2 separate regions of the Homo sapiens genome follow, and region 1 is linked to region 2. Evidence: promoter capture Hi-C in 16 types of primary human blood cells and fetal thymus (Javierre and others, 2016). All regions are on one chromosome and are shown on one strand. The core of a region is centred on a gene start or on the middle of the fragment in contact, and the rest is flanking DNA. Distances in the headings are between cores, read along the strand shown.

Region 1 (6,464 bases), core at 1,616-4,115, 420 kb after region 2:
ACTTACAGGCCGTTTGGTGTTTGCAAGTGCTTGACTGCTACAAGCATTGCATTCACATTTCATATCAGCATCATCTTCCACCTCATCCGAAGATCCTAACCATCCATTCCTGACTCATAGTCTAAAATATGACTTAAAACAATAGTTAGCTATTGAACCGTTACAGAGGGAAAACAATCACTTTGTGATCTGTGAAGTAAATAGGGCAAGAATGAGGCAAGAATGAGGAAAGGGGTTGCTGTTGTATGCAGTAGTCCTCGTGAGAGGTTATCAGTAAATTACAGGGTTGTTTTTTAAAAACAGATCTTTGCGGAATGTAAAGTCTATTTACTGTGCCTTAACTCTCTACTAAGAACCTACATCACTAATGTTTATTTGCTTTAAAAAAAAAAAACGGTTAGTGAAAGAGTGTTTTTCTGCCAAAACATAGGGATGTGGTTGAGGTGAACTTATCACTGCCTGGGAGTGGTGACAAGTTCCTTACTGCTGAAGATTTAACCAACCATTAGCCTCTCAAATGGTTTTCTCTGTTATGTTTGGTAGACAGAATTCAATAAAAGCATCATTTTGGCTGGGGATGGTGGCTCATGCCTGTAATCCAAGTACTTTGGGAGGCTGAGATGAGGATCGCTTTAGCCTAGGAGTTCAAGACCAGCCTGGGCAACATAGTGAGATCCTGCCTCTACCAAAAAAAAAAAGATATATATGTATATATAAAATATATTATATATATATATACACACATCATATTTTATTTATTTTTTTGAACGGAGTCTTGCTCTGTTGCCCAGGCTGGAGTGCAGTGTCAGGATCTTGGCTCACTGCAATCTCAGCTCACTGCAACCTCCACCTCCCAGGTTCAAGTGATTATCCTGCCTCAGCCTTCTGAGCAGCTGGGACTATAGGTATGTGCCACCACGCCTGGTAATTTTTTGTTTCCCGTCTCTACTAAAAATACAAAAAATTAGCCGGGCATGGTGGCGGACGCCTGTAGTCCCAGCTACTCGGGAGACTGAGGCAGGAGAATGGTGTGAACGTGGGAGGCGGAGCTTGCAGTAAGCAGAGATCATGCCACTGCACTCCAGCCTGGGAGACAGAGTGAGACTCCATCTCAGAAAAAAAAAAAAAAAAAAAAAGAGAGATGGGGTTTCACCATGTTTGCCAGGCTGGTCCCGAACTCCTGACCTCAAGTGACCCACCCGCCTCGGCCTCCCAAAGTGCTGGGATTACAGGCATGAACAACTGCGCCTGGCCTAAATTTTTTTTAAAAAAGCACAATTTTGAAGGAAACAGCAATATTACCTGCCAAATACCTCACCATTCCCATAGTCATAAAAACAAGGATAAGGACTTATGAAATATACAGGGATACAGTGGTGCCCAGCAGATGTTCTCTTGTAAGCCCCATGTTTTCCTGAAAAGTGAAGCTGCTTCTTGTTCTCTGCCCCCGCAGATGCTCTGGAACGCTGTCTGGACCCCAGCATGACAGAGTGGGAGCGAGGCCGTGAGCGGGATGAGTTTGCCCGGGCGGCCCTGCTGTACGCATCTTCCCATTCGACCTTGTCCTCCAGGTTCACTCACGCCAAGGAGGAGGATGACTCAGATCAGGTTGAAGTCCCTCGAGACCAAGAGGTCTGTTGTCACCATGTCCCTTACCTGGTGAACTTTAATATTAAAGCACTGCCTAGCCAAAATAGTTTTTTCCTTTTTTTTGAGACGGAGTCTCTCTCTGTCGCCCAGGCTAGAGTGCAGTGGTGTGATCTCGGCTCACTGCAGCCTCCGCTTCCTGGGTTCAAGCGATTCTCCTGCCTCAGCCTTCCAAGTAGCTGGGATTACAGGCGCTCGCCACAACAGCCATCTAATTTTTGTATTTTTAGTAGAGATGGGGTTTCACCATATTGGCCAGGCTGGTCTTGAACTCCTGACCTCAGGTGATCCACCCGCCTCGGCCTCTCAAAGTACTAGGATTACAGGCATGAGCCACCATGCCCGGCCGAGCCAAATATTTTTAATCCCTTGGTGAGAAGATCAAAATATACATGTATAGGAGAATAGGAAACCATTTTATGCCTTAGTTTCCAATGTACTGGAGCATAAATGTTATAGCACAAACTTTTTTCACAGTTCTAGAAGATTGCTTGAAAATTTTAAATGGGAGAGCAGTCAGGTCAGTGGTGCGGCCACTTGATGGAACAGAATGCATGTCTTTTTCCAGAATGATGTCGGGGATAAGCAGTCGGCTGTGAAGATGAAGATGTTTGGGAAGCTCACCCGAGACACGTTTGAGTGGCACCCTGACAAGCTTCTATGTAAGAGATTTAATGTCCCTGACCCTTATCCAGAGTAAGTTGGATAAACCTTTACATCAGTACAAAATGTATTCTTGATATTAAAGCTAATTTTCCCCTTACATACTCATATAAATTCTTATTTTTTCTACATGAACTTATTTGCATATCACTGGATATACAAATCTACACATTTTATAGATTTGCTTTGATAAATTACTTCTATAATTTGTTACTAAAACAAAATCTGGATAGCAAACTTTATTCCATATTGAAGCTATGAAACTCAGATATGTCAAGTTACAAAAGCATTATGCCTCTCTCATTTGCCACCTTCTTGTTGCTGCTCATGTGGTTTACATTTATAATGTTACTTATGTTTTTAAATTATCATTATAAAAGTTAAACACTTTCTTATTTGATTAATAACACTTCAAGAGGTGGGGTGTGGTGGTGCACACTTGTAATCCTAGCTTGGGAGGCCAAGGCAGGAGGATCGCTTGAGCCCAGGAGTTCGAGGCCAGCCCGGGTAACATAGTAAGACCCCATCTCTAAAAAATCAAACAAACAAACAAACAAACAGAACACTTCAAGATAGTAGGCCGGGTGCAATGGCTCACGCCTGTAATCCCTGTATTTTGGGAGACTGAGGCAGGCAGATCACTTGAGGTCAGGAGTTCAAGACCAGCCTGACCAACATGGTGAAACCCCGTCTCTACTAAAAATACAAAAAATTAGCTGGGCGTGGTGGTGCGTGCCTATAGTCCCAGCTATTTGGGAGGCTGATGCAGGAGAATTGCTTGAACCTGGGAGGCGGAGGTTGCAGTGAGCCAAGATTGTGCCATTGCACTCTAGCCTGGGTGACAAGGCGAGACTCAATCTCAAGAGAAAAAAAAACAAAACAAAAAGATAGCATATGTGGTCAAACCAGAGACTGTCAGAAACTTTAGGTATATTTTTATCAGTGGAGCTTTTCCTTAATGGAAATCCATTTTGAAAGTTAAATTCTTGTCCTTATCATAATAAGGAAAATCTCATGGGACCTAAAATCAGTCACCCAGATTCTCGAACTGCTTTGAGAAGTGAAAGCATCTTAGGAGACTTTTTAGTCATGCAGAAGAGGTGGAAAACTTGAGATGGAAAGCTTTTCAGGAGGTGGATTTTGTCCTACTGGTTGTTACTAAAATGATTCTTTTTTCAATTCCCAGTTCAACTTTAGTTGGCTTACCAAGAGTGAAGCGTGACAAGTACTCAGTCTTCAACTTTCTGACGCTCCCAGAGACAGCTTCCTTGCCCACCACTCAAGCATCAAGTGAAAAAGTATCACAGCACCGAGGTCCCGACAGTGAGTAGGGCGTCCCCGGGGTCTCTGATTGACCAGGGCCTCAACCCCTAGCCTGTAGGAAGACAGAATTAAAGGGTAGTTTAGTCCTAACAATGTGAATGGTGCATATTCTCCCTCCATTGAGGGAATTACTCTTACTAATAACTTAGCTCATGTTGTAATGGTCCAGATGTTTACTCTTTGGGGTTGGGGCTCTGTCTCTGCCTCTGCCACCTACCTCCCCAGGACCCTACACAGTGCCAGGCCCCTAGTAGGCACGCTGACATTCTGAGTGAATGAAAGAGCAGTGGTGAAGAACTGGCCTTTTCCTTGCTAATGCTGGAGTTTATATCTATGTCCTGCCTTTCAGAATCAAGAAAACCATCCAGATGGGATACCTCTAAACACGAAAAGAAAGAAGATTCCATTAGTGAATTTTTAAGTTTGGCTAGATCAAAAGCCGAGCCACCTAAACAACAGTCCAGCCCCTTAGTAAACAAAGAGGAAGAGCATGCACCAGAATTATCCGCAAATCAGGTATTTGGGGCTTCCAGATTCTCTTTGCCACGCTGAGTGTGGCCCTTGCTTTTCTCTTTGGTGACACTTTCTCCTCGTGACTCACCAGCAGAGGCAGCCAACTATTGATCCATTTCCCCTTAAAGGCCATTTGGCTTGTTTCTAACTTTTGGCTATAACAAGTAAAGCTGCTGGGAGCATTCATGTGCAAGTTTTTGTGTGAATATAAGTTTTCATTTCTGTAGAGTACAAACCTAGTAGTGGGAATCCTGGAAAATATGTACATGTATATTTAACTTTATAAGAAGCTGTCAAACTGTATTCCAAAGTTATTTTTGCCTTATGTATTTTGAAGTGCACTTCTTAGGTGTATATACATTTAGGATTGCTATTTCTCTCTTTTTTTTTTTTTTTTTTTTTTTGAGATGGAGTCTTGGTCTGTCCCCCAGGCTGGAGTGCAGTGGCATGATTTCGGCTCACTGCAAGCTCTGCCTCCCCTCCCGGGTTCAAGTGATTCTCCTGCCTCAGCTTCCCAAGTAGATGGGACTACAGGTGCGCACCACCATGCCTGGCTAATTTTTGTATGTTTAGTAGAGATGGGGTTTCACCATGTTGGCCAGGCTGGTCTTGAACTGGGATTGCTATTTCTTTTCAGTGAATTGATCTTTTTTTTTTTTTCTCTGACACCGGCTTTTACTCTGTGCCCAGGCTGGAGTGCAGTGTTGTGATAATGGCTCACTGCAGGCTCGAACGCCCAGGTTCAAGCAATCCTGCCTCAGCCTCCTGAGTAGTTGGGACTGCGGGCACACACCACCATGCCTGGCTAATTTTTTTTTTTTTTTTTTTTTTTTTTTTTTTCAGAGAAAGGGCCTTGCTATGTTTTTCCAGGTTGGTCTCAAACTTCTGCTCTCAAGCAGTCCTCCTGCCCTGGCCTCCCAAAGTGCTGGGATTACAGGCGTGAGCCACCATGCCCAGTTGACCCTTTTAACATTATGTAATATCATCTTTATCCCTGGTAATTTTCTTTAGTGTTTGCGTAGTATATATCTTTTTCATCTTCTTTTTAACACATCTGTTTCATTATATTTAAAGTGGGTTTCTTTTTTTTTTTTTGAGATGAAGTTTTACTCTTCTTGCCCAGGCTGGAGTACAATGGCACTGTCTCGGCTCACCGCAACCTCTGCCTCCCGGGTTCAAGCAATTCCCCTGCCTCAGCCTCCTGAGTAGCTGGGATTACAGGCAGGCACCACCATGCCTGGCTAATTTTGTATTTTTAGTAGAGACGGGGTTTCTCCATGTTGGTCAGGCTGGTCTTAAACTCTTGACCTTAGGTGATCTGCCCGCCTCAGCCTCCCCAAAGTGCTGGGATTACAGGCATAAGCCACCGCGCCTGGCTAAAGTGGGTTTCTTATAAACACCGTGTCACTGAGTCTTTCTTAAAATACATTTTGATAATTTATATTGGACATTTGCATTTAATGTGATCATGGATATTTTTGGATTTACGTGTATGATGTTATATTTTCTGTTTATTACCACTCTTTTTTGTTTCTTTTTTTCCCCTTCTCTGCCTTCTTTTGGATTACTTGAATAATTTTTATATTCCATTTGAATTTTTCTATTTTTTTTCTCTTGGTATTTTTTTTTTAGTGATTGCTCTAGGGATTATAGTATACCTACTTACCTTTTTACAGTCTACTGAGAATTAAATGTTTTACCACTTCCAGTAGAATAGAGAAGCTTTAGCACTATGTAGGTCCTTTTACTCTCCTCCCTCTATGCTGTCTTACATATTACATGTACACACAATGAAAATGCCATCAAACCAGTGGTGATCATTTTTGCTTTTAGTCATTAAACATATTTTAAAAGAACCGATGCAGAGACAATAGCCTACTCTGTTTAATCAGATATTTTCTATTTCTGTTGCTCTTTCTTCATCCTTGAAGTTCCACGTTCCCCTCACCTATCATTTCTGTCTGAGGAACTTCCTTTAGCATTTCTTTTAGACCAGTTCCAACAAGTGATTCTCTTAAATTGCCATTATCTGAGAATGTCTTATATTTTGTCTTCATTCCTGAAGGATGTTTTTGCTGGATATAGAATTCTGGGTTGATAATTTTTGTTTTGTTTTGTTTGTTTGTTTTTTGAGACGGAGTCTCGCTCTGTCACCCAGGCTGGAGGGCAGTGGCGCGATCTCAGCTCACTGCAAGCTCCACCTCCCAGGTTCACGCCATTCTCCTGCCTCAGCCTCCCGAGTAGCTGGGACTACAGGCGCCCGCCACCACGCCTGGCTAATTTTTTGTATTTTTAGTAGAGACGGGGTTTTACTGTGT
Region 2 (6,588 bases), core at 510-3,009:
TCAGGCGTAGTAGCATGCGCCTGCAATCCCAGCTACTCCAGAGGCTGAGGCAGGAGAATTGCTTGAACCCGAGAGGCAGATATTGCAGTAAGCCGAGATCGCACCACTGCACTCCAGCCTGGTGAGAGCGCCAGACTCCCTCTCAAAAAAAAAAAAGGTTCAGTTTCTGTTGTTTTGCTATGCACCCAGGACCAGGACTTGGTCATCTCACTCATGAGTAACCAGCTTCTGTGAAAACCAGCTGATGTTGAAACACACACATTCACCTACAAAACCACGGTGTTATTTTACAGCAAAGGGAGTAGTATGTTCTTAAGACCCTTAATCCCTCCATAAATGGTTAGTCATCTGTAAAATAGTGGTAACTGTTTCCACTTCATGGGGTTTTGTAAGAATTACACAACTAATACTAATAAAGTTCCTAGTGCCTCACACACTGTACCCAGTAACTACTAATATTATTATCCCCTAGGATTATTATTACTCCTAGTATTGAAGACATGTTACTTTAATCACCTGAGTGCCTTTCTCTCCATTGCTCTGTATTTTTATTTTATTTATTTATTTATTTTTTTGAGACAGAGTCTCGCTCTGTCACCCATGCCGGAATGCAGTGGCAGGATCTTGGCTCACAGCAACCTCCACCCAGATTCAAGTGATTCTCCTGCCTCAGCCTCCTGAGTAGCTGCAACTATAGGCGCGGGCCGCCACACCCAGCTAATTTTTGTATTTTTAGTAGAGGCGGGGTTTTGCCATGTTGGCCATGCTGGTCTTGAAGTCCTGGCCTCAGGTGATCCGACCACCTCGGCCTCCCAAAGTGCTGGGATTACAGGTGTAAGCCACAGCGCCTGGCCAGAGACCAGGTCTCTTCAAACAAAAAAACAAACAAAACCCCTAAATATTGACAATGTCATCTGTGGATTCTACCCAGGAAATAACCCACATTAAAATGATGGTTTGTGAGGGTCGGCAGGGGTATAGTGTATTTCATCCAAAAACATAACAAATGTGTGATCCAATTATAATAGCAATTATGGGAAAAGCTGTCGGTGACTGATAAGGAGTTATAAAAGAAAAGACTCAAATTTACACAGGCTTTTCAAAAGATCATAATCCTGCTATTGGAGGTGGAAGTCTTCTAGACACTAACAAGGTGGAGAGAAATCTCCATGTGGAGGCCCAGATTAAACATCTCCCATCAAAGTGGAACTCGTCAAATGTCCTAAGACACCTAAGGCCGTCCCCAGGCGCCCTGACAATAAAAGGTAACCAGAACACGAGAGAAATTACTCTGGGAGTACCTTTCACATTCAAGGTGTGCAGTAGGAAATTTATAAATTGGCATCTGGCTCGTCCATTCATTTCTCATTGGTGTGGTTCACGTGTGCTTGCAAAGGTCAGACTTCTGCCCTTCGAATGTCCTCTCTCCCTCTCCCACAGAAAACACCCACATGTGGGTCCTTGTTTAAAGCAGAAAGTCCTAGTCCTTAGCTTTTAGTGAGGTGGATGTCATCAGGCCTGGGTTGGCATCCTGTTTTTTACCATGGCAAGTCATATGCGCCCTTAAGCATTCCTGCTTTTGGTCCAAGCTTCCTGCGTGGGAATACTGCGGTCCTCCTTTCAGGCAGCTGTGAATGACAAACGGTCGCTGGCTGCCGTGACACCCATTGTCCCGCGAGAGTGCCCTAGCTGGGCCCCAGTGCACTCGAGGCGGTCCCTGCTCGGGTGCCCCTCCCACAGGCAGGCGCCGTTGCCGACCAAACGCCCAGGTTCACCCAACGCCAGAGGCTCGTCCTCAATTCCCGCGAGGCCCCCGGAGGTGCTGGGGTCCCTGCAGGGCCGGGCCACCTGCCGTGGAGCTCAGGCCGCGCCAGAATCGGATCCGGGAAGCTGCGCGCCATGAGCAGCTCCCTGCGGCCGGGCCCCAGCCGCTGGCGGCGGGCGGCCAGCATCGTCCTGGCGGCTGGCTGGTCGCGCCCGGAGACCGCCACCCCGCCGTCGCGCCCGCCGCCGGCCGAGGGCTTCCGGCTGCTGCTGCTGCAGCGCTCCCCGCACCAAGGCTTCATGCCGGGCGCGCACGTCTTCTCCGGCGGAGTGCTGGATGCGGCCGACCGCTCGGCGGACTGGCTGGGCCTCTTCGCGCCGCACCACGGGCCGCCGCGCTTCGGCCTGGGCCCGGCGCCATTCAGCCGCACCGCTTTCCCGTCGCTGCCCGACACCGATGACCACAAGACCGACAACACTGGGACGCTGCCTGAGGACGTAGCCTTCCGCATCTGCGCCGTGCGGGAGGCCTTTGAGGAGGCGGGCGTGCTGCTGCTGCGGCCCAGGACTTCCCCACCAGGCCCAGCACCCGGGCCTGGCCTCGCCCTGGAGCCACCGCCGGGCCTGGCCTCCTGGCGCGACCGCGTGCGCCAGGACCCGCGCCACTTCCTGCGGCTGTGCGCCCACCTCGACTGCACACCCGACATCTGGGCGCTGCACAACTGGAGCGCCTGGCTCACCCCTTTCTTGCGGGGCACCACTCGCCGCTTTGACACGGCCTTCTTCCTGTGCTGCCTGCGCGAGCCGCCGCCCGTCTACCCCGACTTGGCGGAGGTGGTGGGCTACCAGGTAAGGCCTGCTCAGGGCCTTGCTGCGGACCGCCAGGACGTGAGAGGGAGGACCCCTCCCAGCGGCCCAGGCCCCCAAGGGACCCCCGCATAGGCCAAGCCCAGAGAGATTAAGCAGCAAGGAACGCTTAGACGGGCTGGAAACTCTCACCCCTGTAGACCAAAGCCATGCTCTTGGTGAAGTGCTCTCTGCTTTCCTAGGCTTTGGGGTCTCAAGGCCTGGAGCCTGTCTCTCCACGTGGTTCCTCCAGCGTGGCCACTGTGTAAGCACTTGTACATGTGTAGACATAGTACATCTCCACAGCCGTTTAATTTGGTTTTCTTGGAGAACAGACTTAATATGATCCAGTCTTCCTATTTTTATTTATTTTTGGTACAGATGGGGGTCTTGTCTCTCTGTGTTGCACACCCAGGCTCGTCTCCAGCTCCTGGTGTGTCCAGAATTGGTTCCTTCCAGTGGGTTCTTGGTCTCGCTGACTTTAAGAATAAAGCCGCGGACCCTCGAAGTGAGTGTTACAGTTCTTAAAGATGGTGTGTCCAGTTTCTTCCTTCAGATGTTCAGATGTGTCTGGAGTTTCTTCCTTCTGGTAGGTTCGTGGTCTCGCTGACTTCAGGATTGAAGCCGCAGACCTTCGCAGTGAGTGTTACAGCTCTTAAAGGTGGTGCGTCAGGAGTTGTTTGTTCCTCTTGGTGGGTTTGTGGTCTCGCTGGCTTCAGGAGCGAAGCTGCAGACATTTGTGGTCAGTGTTACAGCTTATAAAGGTAGTGCGGACCCAAGGAGTGAGCAGCAGCAAGATTTATTGCAAAGAGCAAAAGAACAAACCTCCCACAGCGGAAGGGGATCAGAGCAGGTTGGGTGCTGGTGGCTGGGTGGCCAGCTTTTATTCCCTTATTTGGCCCTGCCCATGTCCTGCTGATTGGTCCATTTTGCAGAGTGCTGATTGGTCCATTTTTACAGAGTGCGGATTGGTGCGTTTACAAATCTTTAGCTAGACAGAGCACTGATTGGTGCGTTTTTACATAGTACTGATTGGTGCATTTACAAACCTTTAGCTAGACACAGAGCACTGATTGGTGCGTTTTTACAGAGTGCTGATTGGTGCATTTACAAATCTTTAGCTAGACAGAAAAGTTCTCCAAGTCCCCACTGGACCCAGGAAGTCCAGGGGCTTCACCTCTCAATCCCGCCTCTAAACAGGGCACCCCATCTGCTGTTGGGAATTGGGCAATGACTGCTCTAGCTACTTCCTGCTGGACAGGGGCAAAGAAGGGGCCCTGCAGTTGTAGTGTCCTCCAGAGGGGAACTCTCTAGGCCAGTGAAAGGGCCAGTGGGTCGGTCCAGGGGTCCTCGGTAGAAGTTGTTAGTTGAGCTCATTTGGGTTTCCGTTTGTAAGACCATCTGTAGTTTGATGGCCTTGATTCTAGAGGAAACAAATTTGACAAGGAGGTTAAAAATACAGGGCCCGAAGGCGAGTAATAGTAAAACGGCTGTCACAGGATGTAGAAAGGGGAGAAGCCATGTTGCCCAACTCCAGAGGTTGGTATAAGAGTTTGAAAGGCGTTGTCTGATTTCAGAAACCTTTTCCTGTAAATGCCGGGCGGCATCTTGCACTATCCCTGACTTGTTAGTGTAAAAACAACACTCTTCCCCTAAGGTGCAAAGTCCTCCTTTCTCAGCAGTGAGGAGGTCTAGGCCTCGGGGGTTTTGGAGAGTCACTGCTGCCAGAGTCTATTTGGGATTGTAGTTACTATCCTTACTGAATAGATTTTGTTATTTCTTGCAAACTGTCTGAGAAATACTTTGAGAGTGTGTGGTAGTAAGATAATGAAGTAGATAAACTGGCTATTCCGGTTCCTGTAGCAGTGGCCATTTCTAGCCCTATAAGTAGGGGTATCAGTTGTATGGCCCTGTGCTGATGGACTTGAGCTTTGAGGGGCACTGATAGGGTCTGATGTCCATAAGATTAGAAGTTAGGATAATATGTGTTACACTGTTAACTTTTAGCAAACTTTACTTTTGTTGAAAACCTTAAGTTTGGGATTTCAATTATTCTTTGCTATTAATAAGACCTCGTTCAGTCCATATTCACTTAAAATTGGTATAGATGGCTCCTTCCTGATTCTGTAAGTACTTTAAGGTTTGGCTGAGTGCAAACAGCTTGCACATTTGAGCAGACCAATTATTAGGCAATTTTCCTAACTCTGCTTCTGTAAGAGTTTCCTTATCACGTACTGAGTACCCATTGTGTCTTTTTCCTTAATCGCCCAGGAGGAAACATCTATCATCCTGTCCTGAAGGGGGTTCCTCCTATGTCTGGTCAGACCTTCAGATTTAGATCCCCTGTTAGGAACCTGCTGGGTTAAGGATTTTTGATAGGAAGGCTACAGGTTGTCAGTGGCCTCAGTGCTTTTGGGCTATGCCCTTGTTTACACTGACAACAAGGTGGTATTGGAGTGTTACAGGGTTACAGAGAAGACCTTCAATTATCAATTGTAGGTTTTATTTTTCATTTTTATTTTTTTGGAGATGGAGTCTTGCCCTGTCACCCAGGCTGGAGTGCAGTGGCATGATCTAGGCTCACCGCAACCTCTGCTTCCCGGGTTCAAGCAATTCTCCTGCCTCAGCCTCTGGAGTAGCTGGAATTACAGGCGCCCGCCACCACACCTGGCTAATTTTTGTATTTTTAGTAGAGACGGGGTTTCACCATGTTGGCCAAGTTGGTCTCAAACTCCTGACCTCATGATCTGCCCGCCTTGGCCTCCCAAAGTGCTGGGATTACAGGCATGAATTATATATTTTAAATTTACCCTGGCTTTTAAAGGAATAGGGTGCACTGTTTTTTCTTTACTACTTCTATCTCTTTCTCTCTGACTCCTTTGTCTCTTCCTCTCTTTCCTTCTGTCTTTGACTTTGCCTCTTTCTCTCTGCTGGTCTTTCCCTGCCTCTGCCAGCCGCTTATGCTGCCGTTCTCCCTTCTCCTTCCCCTTTTTGATGGCTTCGGCAGTGTAAGACTGCCACCTCCTTGGGTTTTTGCATTGAGTGCAATAACTCCATGATTTCCTTGTGGTATTTAATGGGGGTTCCCCCAGAGGTTAGGAACGCTCTTTCTTTACATATTGCAGCATGGGCATGTAGGATTAGATAAGCATACTTGCTATCTGTATACACGTTTTTTCTTTTTTCCTTTCCCAGTTCTAAGGCTCGGGTAAGTGCCACTAGTTCTGCTAACTGGGTGCTGGTCCCTGGGGGAAGAGGTTTACTTTCAAGTACGGTTACATCACTAACTGTGGCATAACCTGCCCTTCGTATCCCATTTTCCACAAATGAACTTCCATCGGTATATAGGTTAAGGTCAGGATTAGCTAACGGGACTTCTAAGAGATCCTTTCAGGCGGCATAAGTCTGGACTACTACCTGTTGGCAGCCATGCTTGACCCGCTCCCTATCCTCTGGGAGAAAAGTGGCAGGGCTGAGGGCCACACATGTATGCACTTGAAGCACTGGTCACTCAAGGAGTAGTGCCTGGTATCTAAGCAGGTGGTTTTCTGATAGCCATAAACTTCCTTTGGCACCTAGTTTGCCATTTACATCATGAGTAGTCCAGACAGTGAGATCCTTTCCTTGTATTATTTTGATAGCCTCTGACACTAAGACAGCCACTGCCACAACTACCCCTAAACAGTTAGTCTAGCCTTTTGCTACTGTATCAGTTTCCTTAGGTATGCCACTGGTTGTGGAGTTGTCCCATGAGTCTGAGTAAGGACCCCAAGAGCTATTCCTGCTCTCTCTGTGACGTTTAAAGAAAAGTTTCGTCCTGTGGGAAGGCTTAAGGCTAGAGCTTGAGTTTGTTCCTTCCAATGCCCAGACTTCAGGGTTGATTCCCTCCCCAAGCAGGGGACAACAAATGGGTAACTTGTTCCCCATATTCATGTAGATAATAGCTCCAGCTTTGGCTAATATATCCCTCCCTAATAA

Evidence for each region. Contacts are between HindIII fragments. The CHiCAGO score rates a contact against its expected background, and 5 or more counts as called.
Region 1: a contact is called between a fragment that was not itself captured here and the fragment with the promoter of NUDT19 in region 2, in 2 of 17 cell types (erythroblasts and megakaryocytes). The highest score is 7.6, in erythroblasts.

Annotation. Positions count from the first base shown.
Region 1 is chr19:33,110,271-33,116,734 of GRCh38, forward strand. It overlaps GPATCH1 (G-patch domain containing 1), which reads left to right. Exons shown (of 20, transcript NM_018025.3): 12 at 1,454-1,632; 13 at 2,216-2,343; 14 at 3,497-3,633; 15 at 3,983-4,149. Among named protein-coding and RNA genes, the nearest start is that of WDR88, 19 kb to the right of the region's middle. The HindIII fragment of the contact is 1,130 bases long and covers 2,301-3,430 here.
Region 2 is chr19:32,690,062-32,696,649 of GRCh38, forward strand. It overlaps NUDT19 (nudix hydrolase 19), which reads left to right and starts at 1,760. Exons shown (of 3, transcript NM_001105570.2): 1 at 1,760-2,613. The coding sequence starts at 1,900. NUDT19-DT (NUDT19 divergent transcript) reads right to left here and starts at 2,235. Exons shown (of 2, transcript NR_186320.1): 1 at 1,302-2,235. It overlaps LOC124904690 (a long non-coding RNA gene), which reads right to left. Exons shown (of 2, transcript XR_007067226.1): 2 at 2,904-4,033. RefSeq lists a silencer at 1,723-2,132. The HindIII fragment of the contact is 6,189 bases long and covers 1,588-6,588 here.